2 separate regions of the Homo sapiens genome follow, and region 2 is linked to region 1. Evidence: promoter capture Hi-C in human tissues and cell types (Jung and others, 2019). All regions are on one chromosome and are shown on one strand. Each heading gives the region's core, a stretch centred on a gene start or on the middle of the fragment in contact. The rest is flanking DNA. Distances are from core to core; before and after follow the strand shown.

Region 1 (7,040 bases), core at 39-2,538:
CTATACAGAAGTCACACCGGATATTTGACCATGGAAAACTGAATACAAATAATTGTTATAAAGCTGTTTATCAGGCAATTTAAATGGTGAGAAGAGAACATAAGATATATAAAAGTAGCAATTATAAGAAGCATCTATCATTCTTAGGACTGGGAGACCAACAGGGGCCGGTAGGAGACGGAATTTGCAAAGTCTAAGAGGAGAGGGAGAGACTTTTTGCTAAAGGCAATCAAAAAATATTTTATGAAGATGGCATTTGAGCTGGGCTTAATTAAGTGGAAATGAGAGAATATTTCAGGTATTGCACATGACCTGGGAAATAGAAGCTACTTTATAAATATTTGTTGAAAAATGAAGTGATGAACAGATAAGCAAGAAAATCTAGAGAAAAGTGTGGAAAATTTCGGGAACAGTAAGTTTGGCTGGAGCTTGGATGGTGGAGATCGGTTGAAAATGTGGTTGCACAGATGGAGTAGAGATGGAGCAGACGGTCTTAAATTCCAGGCCAATGTGTTGAAAATTTATCTTAGGAAGCCGCTGACATTTGAGTAGGGAAGTGACAAGACTGGAACGATGATTTCTGGATGGCCGATTTGCCTGTGATACGTAGAAAGAACTGTAAGCAGAGAGCAACTGAATTTCTCAGCCAGAAGGCCAAAAAATGACGAGCTGGATTGAAGTGACAATAAGGATATGAGAAAGGGAACAAGCAGGAAACAAAATGTAAGCCGCCAAGAAGTGGCTGAAGTGATGACTGTGGTTGGGGGGCATGGGAGGAAGAAGGGAAATTGAAGCTCCTTCTGAGTCTAGGCAATTGGAAGAATGGCAGGAAGAGGAAAGAAAGAGGAAGAGAACGGGGCTTTGAAGGGCCATGAGAAGTTCTGTGGAAACGGATTGGACATCCTAGTGCAAAGAGATGTGGCAGTGCAGGTCTGCAGCTTAACGGAGCCTGGGCAGGAGGTGGCTGATGTGGGTTTCATCTGCATAGAGATTCCGGCTGACGCCTCTATTTGGAAGAATGCAATAGTATTTGCGTATTTGAACCCACAGCCAGTCCTTGGGCCAGAAACTGAGGCTGAACTGCCTCTTGATTTACAGCTTCCACCCCCAGTTTCCATTCTCCCCTAAAGCACTGGATTCAGGTAATCGCGGACGCACTTGGCTCCTCCCGCACTGGCCGCTGCCCTCGGCGGGACAATGGGCGCCCTAGCAGCCCCGAGCGTTCCCAGGGCGCAGGCGCGGCGCGGCGTGGCGTCGCCTAGCAACGAGGCACAACAAGGGACTGGGGGTTCGTCTGCTGGGTTTGCGGAGCAGCTAGCTACTCGGCGGGATCTCCCGGCAGGTAAAGGTAACCCCGTGGGGTGGGGAGGCCCAAGGCAGAGGCCTGAGGAAAACCTGGGAAAGGAGAAGGTGCCACGTGGGCGCAGACTGCTTGGGTCAGTGAGGCAACACCTTGCTGGGCGTTGTTAGTTTCTGCCTCGCGCCCGCAGGGTTAGACGGGGCTTGGGGTGGGTTTCGTAAGCATCCCGCCACCTCCCATTCAACAGGTGACAAAACTGAGGCCCGAGAGGGGATCTGAGGTGAGATCAAGTCAGATTCCGTTACTTGACTGTGAGCAACTCAGAAGTGGCCTCGATTTCTTGAGCCCTCCTCCTCTTTAAATCTTCTCAAAGCAGAACTCATTAGAAAATATTTAAAATCATAGGCTGAACGTTCACGAAGAACAAATACAAAGGACCAATCAACTCGTGAAAAAAAAAATGGCTCCAGTAGTCAAGAAGATGCATTTTTAGAGCAGAGTTGTTTGCATATCCAATGCCCTGAAGTTTTCACCCAGTTAATTTACTGCTAGAGATTTATCCTAAAGAAATAGTTGGGGATAATGGATGAAAATTTTATGTCCAAGGACGTTCTTTCAGCCCTGTCCATATTTCCAGAAAATTAGAAACAAATTTCAACAATCAGAGACTGGCTAGATAGCTAAGGGATTTTAAAATATTTGTAATGGCATGTTATGCTAATCCACTGGAGATTATTAAAGCAATGAAGGGAAACTGAGACTTCATGAATTTATTTGTTAATATAAGAATTTAGTAGGAATATGAACCCAGGAAGGGAAGGTGAAAGTAGGGGATAGAAGTTGAGGCAGGATGTTAAAATCACTTTAGAAAAACACACAAAGCCAGGTACGGTGGCTCACGCCTACAACCCCAGCACTTTGGGAGGCTGAGGCGGGTGGATCGCCTGAAGTCAGGAGTTCGAGACCAACCTGGTCAATGTGGGGAAACCTGTCTCTACTGAAAATACAAAAATTAGCCGAGCGTGGTGGCGGGTACCTGTAATCCCAGCTACTCAGGAGGCTGAGGCAGGAGAATCTCTTAAACCTGGGAGGTGGAGGTTGCAATGAGCCAAGATCAGGCCACTCTCCAGCCTGGGCAACAGAGTGAGACTCTGTCTCAAAAAAGAAAAAGAAAAAGAAAAAAAGAGAAGAGAGAGAGAGAGGGAGAGAGAGAGAGAGAAAGAGAGAGAGAAAGAGAAAGAAAAAGAAAAAGAAAGGAAAGGAAAGGAAAGGAAAGGAAAAGAAAAGAAATAGTATTGATCTCTCTGAGCTTATCTTTGGGTGATTTTTATTTTATTCGTTGTGCCCTTGTTTTCCAAATTCTCCACAGTGAAATGTATTACCCTTGTAAGGATCATCTCCATAGCTCATTGCCACCGACCTATGTCAGCTGTTCAGTCTCTCCTCCATTAACTATCATACCCAATATGGTGATAAAACACATAGGCTTTTTTTGGGGGAGGAGACAGAGTCTCGCTCTGTCACCCAGGCTGGAGTGCAATGGGGTGATCTCAGCTTATTGCAACCTCCGCCTCCCGGCCTCAAGCAATTCTCCTGCCTCAGCCTCCCCAGTAGCTGGGAATGCAGGCACATGCCACCGCCACTCCAGGCTAATTTTTGTATTTTTAGTAGAGACAGAGTTTTGCCATGTTGTCCAGGCTGGTCTTGAGCTCCTGACCTCAGGTGATCCACCCGCCTCAGCCTCCCAAAGTGCTGGGATTACAGGAGTGAGCCACCACGCCGGGCCATGATAAAACACATAGGCTTTTAACTTCATTCTTTAGCTTAGGAGACACTCTATCATTGCAATACTGTCTGTGTAAGCTCTTCTAACCTCTGCACTATGCAATTGCTCAAAAACACTATCCTGAAGTAGGAAAAATTAGTTCCTAAGTGAAAATCAGATGATTTAAAACAACTTTATGCAGGTGTAATTAAATTGCTTCCTGAATATTATTCATAAGCAATTATTTTATAAATCAAAGGCTGCTCTGTCTTGGAATTGGTTATAGAGTGCTATAAACTCTCTCTTTTTTTTTTCCTAGAGATTAATTGTAGGATAGATTCTCATTTGCCCAGAATAGTTTCTGCCTCTCTGCCTGAAATATTATAGGCACAAGGTCTAGGGCCTGTTCACTTTTCAAGCACCTAAGGAAGATGTTTGAGATTTGAAAAAAATGCTTATATTGGCTCTAAAATATGAAAAGAGAACTGAAAAATTAGTGTTAATTAAATGTTTTATTAATATAAATTTTTATTACATTTGAAAACAATTTTCTCATTTTACAAGAATTTCCAGGTGTATGTACTGATTGCTGAGTAATTTCAAATACAAATTTCAAAAGTTTTTATGATGCAAATGACATTTAATGGGCGATGCAGGCACATTTTAACATTTTAATATATTGGCTATTGTGTGAATAAGCTTGCCCAGGCCCTCCAAAGTCTTAAAAGTAGTGTGGTCTGAAGTTAGAGACCTAGAATAAATGCCTTTCAGAAGTATCTAGGAGTTTCTATGAAGACGTGGCTTTTTAATGTATGTGATAAATTCTGGTCAGTGTCTCTAATGCTAGGAGTTGCTTTTGACCCTTGACATGCAATTTGAGCTAACCCTGACACTGTAGATTCTCCCCAAGGATTTTCTACTTCCTAGGATTTCTACTGAGACTATGGTAATTTCCTTAAGGCTATGATATACCGTTTAAGATTGCTCCTACGATATACCGTTTAAGATGGCCCTGATGTCAAACATAATTCCACAAACTCTCACTGAAGAAAACTAGATAGATTTCCTGGGTTATTCTAATAGACATTAACATCTTGAAAAGTTTCTTTTTTTTTTTTGAGACAGTCTCACTCTGTTGCCCAGGCTGGAATGCAGTGGTGCGATCTCGGCTCACTGCAGCCTCCGCCTCCCGGGTTCAAGTGATTCTTGTGCCTCAGCCTCCTGAGTAGCTGGGACTACAAGGCACGTGCCACCACACCCGGCTAATTTTTGTATTTTTAGTAGAGACAGGATTTCACTGTGTTGGCCAGGATGGTCTTGAACTCCTGACCTCGTGATTCGCCCACCTCGGCCTCCCAAAGAGCTGGGATTACAGGCGTGAGCCACCTGCCCGGCCTGAAAAGTTCTTTGAACCCAGGCTGGTTACTCCTCTGTGGTATGTTAACTATGTATAAATTCCATTCCTTTCACTTTTTCCACACAGACATGGACATATGAGGACAAGTGGAAAGGAAGTAACCTCAGTTTCCCCAGAATATATCTCTTCAGATTTTTTAATTGCTTTTTTACTAAGCTGTGGATTATGAAAGAAAACTTTTTGTTATCCGGGCAAAGGACACAAATGTTGATTCAAGACCTGGTAGATTTTGTATACCATTTATGAGATCATTACTCCTAGGAAAAATGGAGTTAATGAGGTTTATAAATATCAAATGCCAATTATGTACCAGACACTGTTGTAGGTATTTAGGATAGATCAGTGCAAGAAAATAGACAAAAACCTCTGCCTTTGTGGCACAAACATTCTTGCAGGTCTCAAAAGTAACTTGGTGGGCTTAGTCTCTTAAGCCCATCATAAGCAAGCTATAAAAATGGTAAATGATTTCTTGTTATTTAAGTTATGCCACTAATATATTCACCTCCTTTCTAAACTGAAAGCCAGGACTAACACTCAATGATCTTATCAATAAGTTCCTTAAAATTGCAGAGTTTGAAATTGGGATGTAGGTGACATATTTGTACATATGTGATAATTTTTACATGTATTGCATTGTGTTTTAGGAGGTAAAAATTTAAAGGAGAAAATAAACCTCCTCTCAAGGGCACAGGTAATTGAGAAATGTATGTGCAAATGTCACTTTAACCATATATTGCATCTTTTTCCAGGATGGGTAAAAAGATAAAGAAGGAAGTAGAGCCTCCTCCTAAGGATGTGGTAAGTTTCTGATTTGAATACTAGTAGCACTTTAACAACCAGTTATAAAAATAAATTGTTCACACAGTTTGGCATGTACCAGTATATACATGAATACGCGGTGGCAGAAGTCCAAAGTCTGACTAATGATAAGATTAGTCAGAGAAATCTAACATTACATAAACAAACATTTACAACATTGTCATTATATAATTAGCACAATTAGAGAGTAATTATTAGCTTTTCCAGTATGTAGATGGCATGTTTATAGCATAGTTAATGAATAAATAGTTTGGGTTGTTCTTTTAAATACTTACCATTTACATTTGCCAGCCTCTCATTTATGTTAATTAATCAAGTGAATTTTCAAAAATAACTGGAAGTTCTGCTATAGCTATTAGATATGTATATAAGGTTGTCTGGTGATGACCACTGCACGTGAGAAGTCCCTATCCTTTCCAGTTCTATCGAGAGACTAGTCTGGCATCATCATTTTTATTCCAAATGCTAAGTAATTCATTCCCCACTGAAAGCTCTTCTCTGTCTTTAAAAACAGGATTTTATCTTCTCTCTTTAAACTTTATCAATTATTGAAAGGTTGTGTTAAAAGTGAAAAATGACCTTGGACAATTTGCAGTTTAGAAACTTATTTTGAAACAGACATTTGGTGTGATTTCCTTCAGATAAATCAGGAATAGAAAAGAAATAAGTGGAGTCCACAGACTCACAGCAATTTCAAATTTGAAGGAAACTGGGCTAATGGCAGAAATCTGCCCCCTTGGGAGCTTTGTGGTTAAGACACTGGGGGCCTTGAGCCAGCTCTGCCTCTTACCAACTGTGTCATTGTGGCCAATTTGCCAAATTTGGCCAAGTTATTTCGGTTTTTCTTTAGCTCCTAAATGGGAATCATAATATCAAACTCGTTCCCGTTGTTGTATGAATTAAAACAAAATAAGTTACATAAAGGTCTTAGTGCTTGGCACGTAGCACTTGGAAAATAAGATCTATTATCATGAGAATCCTCTGGACTCTGCTTCTGAGACACACAAACACACACTTGCACCCCTGTGCAATCCACTGGGTATGATACTTCAATACAGTTGGGAACAAAATCTACAGAAGTGCCTGTCTTCCCGGGTCCAGGAAGGCTTTGCAGGGGTAGACATTGTGATCTCATGATGTTTCATCATTCTGGCTGCTTCTCTTAGGACATATTCCTAAAATGTTGCAGATTCTCTTATTTTTTTTTTCATTGCATCCAAGGTTTGTATCACTCCCCTTTTTGCTACCAAATAGCATTAATGGCATCTGATTAGCAAAAACATATTCTAATAAAAATTAGAATTACGGGGCTAATAAACAATAGATGTATATGGCTAATACACTTTCTATAACTTCATAATGTCTTGCTGATATTGTCCTCTGGACTCCAATCCTTGGGGACACAATGGAGAACTTGAGAAACACAGTCCTAGCATTAACAAAATAGAACTCCTGCTTCCTCAGCTCCCAACAGCCTTGGAGGTAGCCAATGGCGGGTGTAACATTGACCAATGGTCCTTACTTTTCCCTGCCTTTCCCAGGGGACTTCTACTCTGACTATAAAACTGACAGAGTGTTGGGAGGCTGAGGCGGGCGGATCACGAGGTCAGGAGATTGAGACCATCCTGGCTAACATGGTGAAACCCCGTCTCTACTAAAAATACAAAAAATTAGCCGGGGGTGGTGGCAGGCGCTGGTAGTCCCAGCTACTCGGGAGGCTGAAGTAGGAGAATGGTGTG
Region 2 (7,584 bases), core at 4,728-7,227, 45 kb after region 1:
ACTGGCAGGATTCCCTCTGTGGCCAGGTAGATCAGCCTTGTTCTATTAAGGCCTTCAACTCATTAGATGAGGTCCACCCATATCATGGAGGGTAATCTGCTTTACTCAAAGTCTGTTTTAAACATTAATCTCATATAAAAAGTACTTTCACAGGAACATCTAGAATAATATTTGGCCAAATATCTGGGTACTGTGGCCCAGATAAAAATTCATCACAGGTTTTCTCCTTGTCAATTTGGTACCCATATACCTCTTAAATCATAATCTTCAGACAATAATGAGATCATACTTTTAGCTAACGTGATACAACTATCCTATAAACAACCAAATATTTCCCAATGCTTACCCCAGAAGAGGATGCAAAATCCTTGGGTGATGTTTACCCTTCCTGGACCCACAAATCCTGGCTATGGGAGAAACGGCACCATATGGTAGACACTGATTCAGAGCATATACAGCATTCTGGACAACCTTGCCAAAGCCCTGCAAGGTATTGCCACCTAGTTGGTGCTGTAACTGAGTCTTCAAAAGGCCATTCTATCAAGCCAGCTGCTTCAGGATGGTGGGAAACATGGTAAAACCAGTGAATTCCATGAACATTGGCCACAATGTATTTGCTGTGAAAGTGAGTTCCTTCCCTTCATGATGGTGGATTATCCTTTCTGAGCATTTCTCACTTTTGGGATTTCCCGTTTACATTTCTAGCTATTTAGGTAAAACCGCAGTTTTCCATGCCTGTGGGGATTCAGTAGATTTCCTCAGGCAAGACGGCCACACACTCGCAATACTTCTGTTATAGTCACAAATTATTTTAAAGTATATATTTTCATCAGCTTCTGTCTTGCTTTTTCAAAAAATGTTTTCTCCAGATTTCAAAATTGTTTTTTGCAGAAGACTGTATGAGCAACTTCATTGACTACCATTTCTGGAAGTTTCCTCCCTAGCATTACTTTTTATCCATAAAACATTTTGGAGTAAGGGAAAGGAGAAAAGACAGGGCACATGGCCAAGAAGAGTGATGTTACTTTGATAAGCAGAACTCCTATTCCCTGGGGCCTCTGTCACAACAAAAATCATGACATTGTGTTCTGACTGACTTTATTTCCTCTTGTAGTCAAATTTGGGAAGTGTACATTTTAGTACAACTTTCTAAAGTTGTATTTGCTTTTATTATTAGGAATTGAATGACCTTCATATAGAAGCACTTGCAGTGATAGCCAATTGCCTTGAAGACATGGATACTATGGTGCAGATTCAGCAGACAGGGGGTCTTAAAAAGCTCCTGTCATTTGCAGAAAACTCTACAATTCCTGATATTCAGAAGAATGCAGCAAAAGCCATTACTAAAGCAGCTTATGATCGTATGTCTCATTTTATTTTATTTATTTTGAGATAGGATCTTGCTCTGTTTCTCAGGCTGGAGTGCTGTGGCGTGATCACAGCTCACTGCAGCCTCAACCTCCCCAGGTTACAAGTGATTCTCCCACCTCAGCCTTCCTAGTAGCTGGGACTACAGGCATGCACCACCATGCCTGGCTAATTTTTGTATTTTTTGTAGAGACAGGGTTTTGCTGTGTTGCCCAGGCTAGTCTAGAACTCCTGGGCTCAAGCGATCTGCCCACTTTGACTGAGTTACAGGCATGAGCCACTGCACCCTGCCATGTCTTATTTTATATAAACAAAACATATATAATTCCTCTTGTCTCAATTTTGATTAGTACTAATCAACACTAGAGCATTTGTCTGCTTTTAAAAAACCATTTGAGAATAGTGCTATATTTACTACTTAAGTCCAAACTCATCTCACTTCCAATGAGTTAGAGATTTGTCAGGGATATGAAGAACTCAATATGATTTCATTATCCTATTTTTCAAAATACAATTCATTTCTACATTAAGTTTTAAGCCTTTGTTTCACTTGAATTTGGAATTATATAGAAGGTATGCATTGTTTGTGAACCTGAGAGCATTGAAGAAATCCACATTCACAATGATATCTATAAAGTAATTTTCAAGTTTCAGCTGGAGTCTAGTAGCACCATGTTACATAGCTGTGAAAAATATGCTCATACTATATACATAATACAATTTGCATTTCAGTGACAAGTTATGTTGATATAAATCTGTAAAATATGAGAGATTAATTACAGCACAAGCACAGATGAAATTATAGTTTTAATTTATGTATATTTGGAGTCTTTTATCTAATAAAAGATGTGATCTTATTTTTCCCCTTCTGCACCACTTTTAGAAATGATGACAGCATTGACTATTTTAAGTGATTTATATTCTAAACATATATACTCACATCTGTATATTGATATGTATACTATGGGAAACACTCCATTTTCAGCACACACTGGATTTCTTCAGGACAAAGCTTTAATGCAGTAAGCAAGATTTCACCATCCAGTATGTAGTGTGCATAGAGGGGCCTCATGAGTTACATTATAAATGCCTATTTGAGAGACTGGTTGTGAAATCAAGGTTTCTTCATATTGGCAAAAGTTGGTTTACCCAGTATTCTATCAAATGGAACTTAGACATTATTCTAGCTGGTCAGTTCTCTCTTCCTTCTATCCTAGTTCTTCTTAGCTAAGTGAGACCCGAAGAGAAGTAAAATGGGGAGACACGGACAATGCCAAACCTGAAATGTTTGCGTATCTCAGCATCTCTTTGGAGAGTATTTATATGTATCAAATGTGGCTGGGTCATTCTAAGACTGTTCTCACTCATTTTGAGGTGGTGAGTTTGATGATGCCTACCCATCATGTGCCACAGTACTGGAAAGTATGCTGCAGAGTTCCTGGTACTAGAGTTCTAGTACTAGTTCCACTACTGGCATTGTAACGACCTACTTAAGTGATTTTGAGTGAACTATAACTTCTCCAGAACAATGTATATATTCGTTTACTCATGATTTCTTACTGAGTTCTCACCCAGAACAGGAAAGTAAACAGGCACTTACAATGCAGTGTTCAAAGTGATTAATGATGGAAACACAGGATCACCCAGGAAGGCTCCCAGCACAGACCTGGATCAGAAAAATATTTCTGAAATCAGTGATTAACAAGCTAGGACCTAGAGTAAATAAGATAAATTGTCTGGTCAAAGAAGGTTCAGATGGGATGGAGGAGGAGAAGTGGTTCTGAGAAGGAACAGGGTGTATAAAAGCCAGAGGAGGGATAACATGGTAAGTTCCAGAACCGAAAGTTTTCAGAATGGCCAATGACCAGAAAGCCACAGAACACTGAGCGCTCAGGCTATGGACGTGGTGAGGAGCCCAGTGCTCATGGACATTATAAGCCCAGTTAAGGATTTTGGACTTTATTTTAATGGCAACAAAGAGCCATTGAAGTTACTCAGAAGGGAGGGAACATCATGGATTTTCACTTGTTAAAGAAAGAGAACTCGTGTTGCAAAGTGGAGAAGAGATTGGAAATGTTTAGGACCAGACACAGAAGACCAAAAGGGGGTTGCTGTAGTAATCTAGGTGAGATGTGAAGGTGCCCTGAAACAGAGATGCGGTGTTCAGGACTGGCTCAAGGCACTTTGCAAGGAGAACCACCAGCACATGTGTGAGTATTTTTGAATGACTATGTTGGTTGAAAGAGGAAGAAGGCGATACCAAGGATGAGGCCAGGTTTCTGGCTTAGACAGCTAGAAGTAAAATGGTGCCACTCACAGAACTGAAGAACTCAAGAAGGGGAGCGGTTTTGCTTGAAGAAAAGGAATCAATCCTATTCTTGCTTTTTAAATTGTGGTGAAATACAAATACTATGAAATTTACCGTCTTCATCATTTTTAAGTGTACATTTCAGTGGCATTAAATGTATTCACATTTTTGTGGTGCTGTCCATCCACAGAAATCTTTTCATTTAGCAAAACTAAAAGTATACCAATTAAACAATCATTCCCACTCCTTCCTCATACAAACTCCTGGCAACCACTATTCTTTGTCTCTATGAATTTGATGACTCTAGATCCCTCATATATATGGAATCATACAGCATTTGTCCTTTTGCAAATGCATAGCACTTGGCACGATGTCCTTAAGTTTCATTCATGTTGTAGCATGTGTCACAATTTCCTCCCTTCTTAGGGCCAAAGAATATCCATTGCCTGTATAGACCACATTTTGTTTATCCTTTCAACCATGGATGGACAGTTGGTTACATCTGCCTTTTGGTTAATGTGAATAATGTTGCTAAGAATGTGGGTATACAGATATCTCTTTGAGTCCCTGATTTCAATTATTTTGGATATATACCTAGAAGTGGAGTTACTGAATCATATGGTAATTATATTTTTAGTTTTTTTTTTTTTTTTTTTGAGACAGTCTCGCTCCATCACCCAGGCTGGAGTGCAGTGGTGTGATCTCAGCTCACTGCAACCTCCACCTCCTGGCTTCCAGCGATTCTCCTGCCTCAGCCTCCTGAGTAGCTGGGACTACAGGCACGCACCACCACACCCAGCTAATTTTTGTATTTGTAGTAGAGACATGATTTCACCATGTTAGCCAAGCTGGTCTTGAACTCCTGACCTCAGGCAATCTTCCCAACTCAGCCTCTCAAAGTGCTGGGATTACAGGTGTGAGCCACCATGCCCGTCCTCTATTTTTAATTTTTTTGAGAAACTGCCATATTGTTTTCTGTAGCAGCTGTACCATTTTACATTCCCATAACCAATGCACAAGAGTTCCAATTTCTCCACATCCTGGCCCACACTTGCTATTTTCTGTTTGTTGATAGTAGCCATCCTAATGGGCGTGAGGTGCTATCTCATTGTACTTTTTATTTGCATGCCCTAATGATTAGCAACTTCAAGCATCTTTATCGTGTACTTACTGGCCACTTGCATATCTTCTTTGGAGACATCTATTCAAGTCCTTCTCCCATTTTTTGATTGGGTTGTTTTCTTGATGCTAAGTTACAGAAGTTCTTTATATATTCTGGATATTAACCCCTTATCAGATATTATTTGAAAACAGTTTCTCCCATTCTGTGGTTTGCCTTTTTACTCTGTTGATTGTGTGCTTTGATGCAAAAAGTTTTAAATTGTGGTGCATTCCAATTTATCTATTTTGTTGGCTATGCTGTTTGCTGTTGGTGTCATATCCAATAACTCATTACCAAATATCAAAGCTTTTGCCCTATGTTTTCTTCTAGGAGTTTTGTAGCTGTAGCTCTTATATTTAGGTCTTGATCCATTTTGAGTTTATTTTTATATAGGGTATAAAATTATGGTCCCAGTTCGTTCTTTTTCATGTAGACATAAATTTTTCCTAGCATCATTTGTTGAAATTGGTTATTTGTAATAGAAAGGAATTCAAGCAGATAGTCTTTAAATCCTTTCTGGCACTTAATGTTTTCTGATTCTACTTCCTTTTGTTAGTTCTAAAATAACTACATTCCAGTTTCAAGTTGTGTCTCCTGTCTTTATGTTAGAATCTAATGACTAACTGTATTTACTTCATATATGTCATCTGTGATTGTATTATGTTCCCTTCAAACATCACTTTTTCAGACCGAAGAATTCAGATCTTGTTTAGTCTCTCTCCACGCATGTCCCCAGGCCATCCTGGGATCATTTTCTTACCTCTTCAGGACTTCCTCTTGTTTATTATACCCTCCTTGAAATGTGTTGATAAGTATTACGAAAGCTATTTTAAAAGTATGCACCATCATTTTATATTATCTATAGATAGGTTGATTTATCATTATTTTCCATTTCAGTCTTATGCAGCAAGTATTTTAGTCTCTTAACTACATTAGCATATTGGGCCAACCCTTTGAGGGAAGGACCTGCAGGGAGCCCCCAGATCATCTTTCTCAGTCAGTACCCAGAGCTCAAAGTTCCTCATTTTAATTTGTAACATTTTGGGGCTGGGCACAGTGGCTCACACCTGTAATCCTAGCACTTTGGGAGGTTGAGGTGGGAAGATCACTTGACACCAGGAGTTCAAGACCAGCCTGGTCAACAGAGCAAGACCCCCCATCTCTACATAAAATTTTTTTTAAATGAGCCATGCGTGATGTTGTGCACCTGTAGTCCCAGCTACTTGGGAGGCTGAGGAAGGAAGATCACTTGAGCCCAGGAGTTTGAGGCTGCAGTGAGATGTGATCATCCCAGTGCACTCCAGCCTGGGTAACTGAGCAAGACCCTTAATAATAATAATAATAATAATAATAATAATAATAATAATAAATCCTAACATCTTTGATTTATAGTTAAAAATGCAAACTTTGCTTTGGACTAGTATTGCATATTCTTTGAGGCCTGGTATAGGATCTATTTGTACAAGTGTTCTATTAAATCTTGGAAAGGCATACTCTGCTTACTATTTAAATAAACACTTATCATATGCAATTCATTTCTATATTAAGGATATTAAGATAAGGATAAACAATGGATGGAATGAATAAATATTTTCTGAATAGACAAAAAGATATATTTCCTGTAGAATGCAGAGTTTATCTTTTAGTTCAATTTTATAAATTATATTGTACAGTTTTATCCTTATTCTTTTTTTAGCTATATGATCTGTCACAGATGAAGAGTAGTATGTTAGAAGTTTCCCACTATATTATTTTTATTTTCTCTTGTAATTTTTTCTTTGTCTTTCTTTTTTTTTTTTTTTTTTTTTTTGAGACAGAATCTCGCTCTGTCACCCAGGCTGGAGTGCAGTGGCGCGATCTTGGCTCACTCCAAGCTCCACCTCCCAGATTCTCACCATTCTGCTGCCTCAGCCTCCCTAGTAGCTGGGTCTACAGGTGCCTGCCACCAGGCCCAGCTAATTTTTTGTATTTTTAGTAAAGACGGGGTTTCACCATGTTAGCCAGGATGGTCTTGATCTCCTGACCTCATGATCCACCCACCTCGGCCTCCCAGAGTGCTGGGATTACAGGCGTGAGCCACCGCGGTCGGCCTTTCTCTTGTAATTTTATATTAAATGACTTCACTTTATGTTTTTTATCCACTACTGATTTTTTTAAATCTCACTTTTATTGCTCTTTAGCTTTTGATTCTAATTTGATATTAAGATTACCATGTATTATCAAACATGGTCTTGGCAGAAAAAAAATTCTGGAGACTCCTGATGGTTTTAAAAGAGACAAATGAAGGAACTACTTTCAGAAGTATAATTAGGGTTAAGGGAATAAGCAAGAGATGATGAGGTCCCCAGAGATTAGCAATATTGGGAAATCTTCACTACCACTAGGTCCAAAAGGCAAGGCAAATAAATATTGTTAGATTTATTTTTATAGCTACTATATTCACCCTTATTTCTGACATCATGTTTTATGTTTTATGCTTTCTGTTTATTTTTCTATGCTGTTCATTTCTTTGTATAGATTTTAAAAACTTTTATAAACAGTTATTTTAAAGATAAAGTTACTATAGTTATTTTAGATATTTAGCAATTTTGCTTCCACAATTCTTTCCCTTTCTGATGTTTCTAAGATCAATAAGAGGTTATAGATTCCCCTCTCTAAAATCTGTTTTTTTTTGTTTGTTTGTTTGTTTGTTTTGAGACTGAGTCTCGCTCTGTTGCCCAGGCTGGAGTGCAGTGGAGTGATCTCA

The links. The method cuts DNA at HindIII sites, captures the fragments that hold promoters and counts their contacts. A contact is called where the count stands out against the background at its distance.
Region 2: a contact is called between a fragment that was not itself captured here and the fragment with the promoter of ARMC3 in region 1, in 1 of the 25 tissues and cell types used here (hippocampus).

Annotation. Positions count from the first base shown.
Region 1 is chr10:22,926,765-22,933,804 of GRCh38, forward strand. It overlaps ARMC3 (armadillo repeat containing 3), which reads left to right and starts at 1,289. Exons shown (of 19, transcript NM_173081.5): 1 at 1,289-1,342; 2 at 5,232-5,280. The coding sequence starts at 5,233. The HindIII fragment of the contact is 8,735 bases long and covers 1-6,270 here.
Region 2 is chr10:22,967,129-22,974,712 of GRCh38, forward strand. ARMC3 (armadillo repeat containing 3) reads left to right here. Exons shown (of 19, transcript NM_173081.5): 8 at 1,178-1,361. Among named protein-coding and RNA genes, the nearest start is that of ARMC3, 43 kb to the left of the region's middle. The HindIII fragment of the contact is 4,431 bases long and covers 3,763-7,584 here.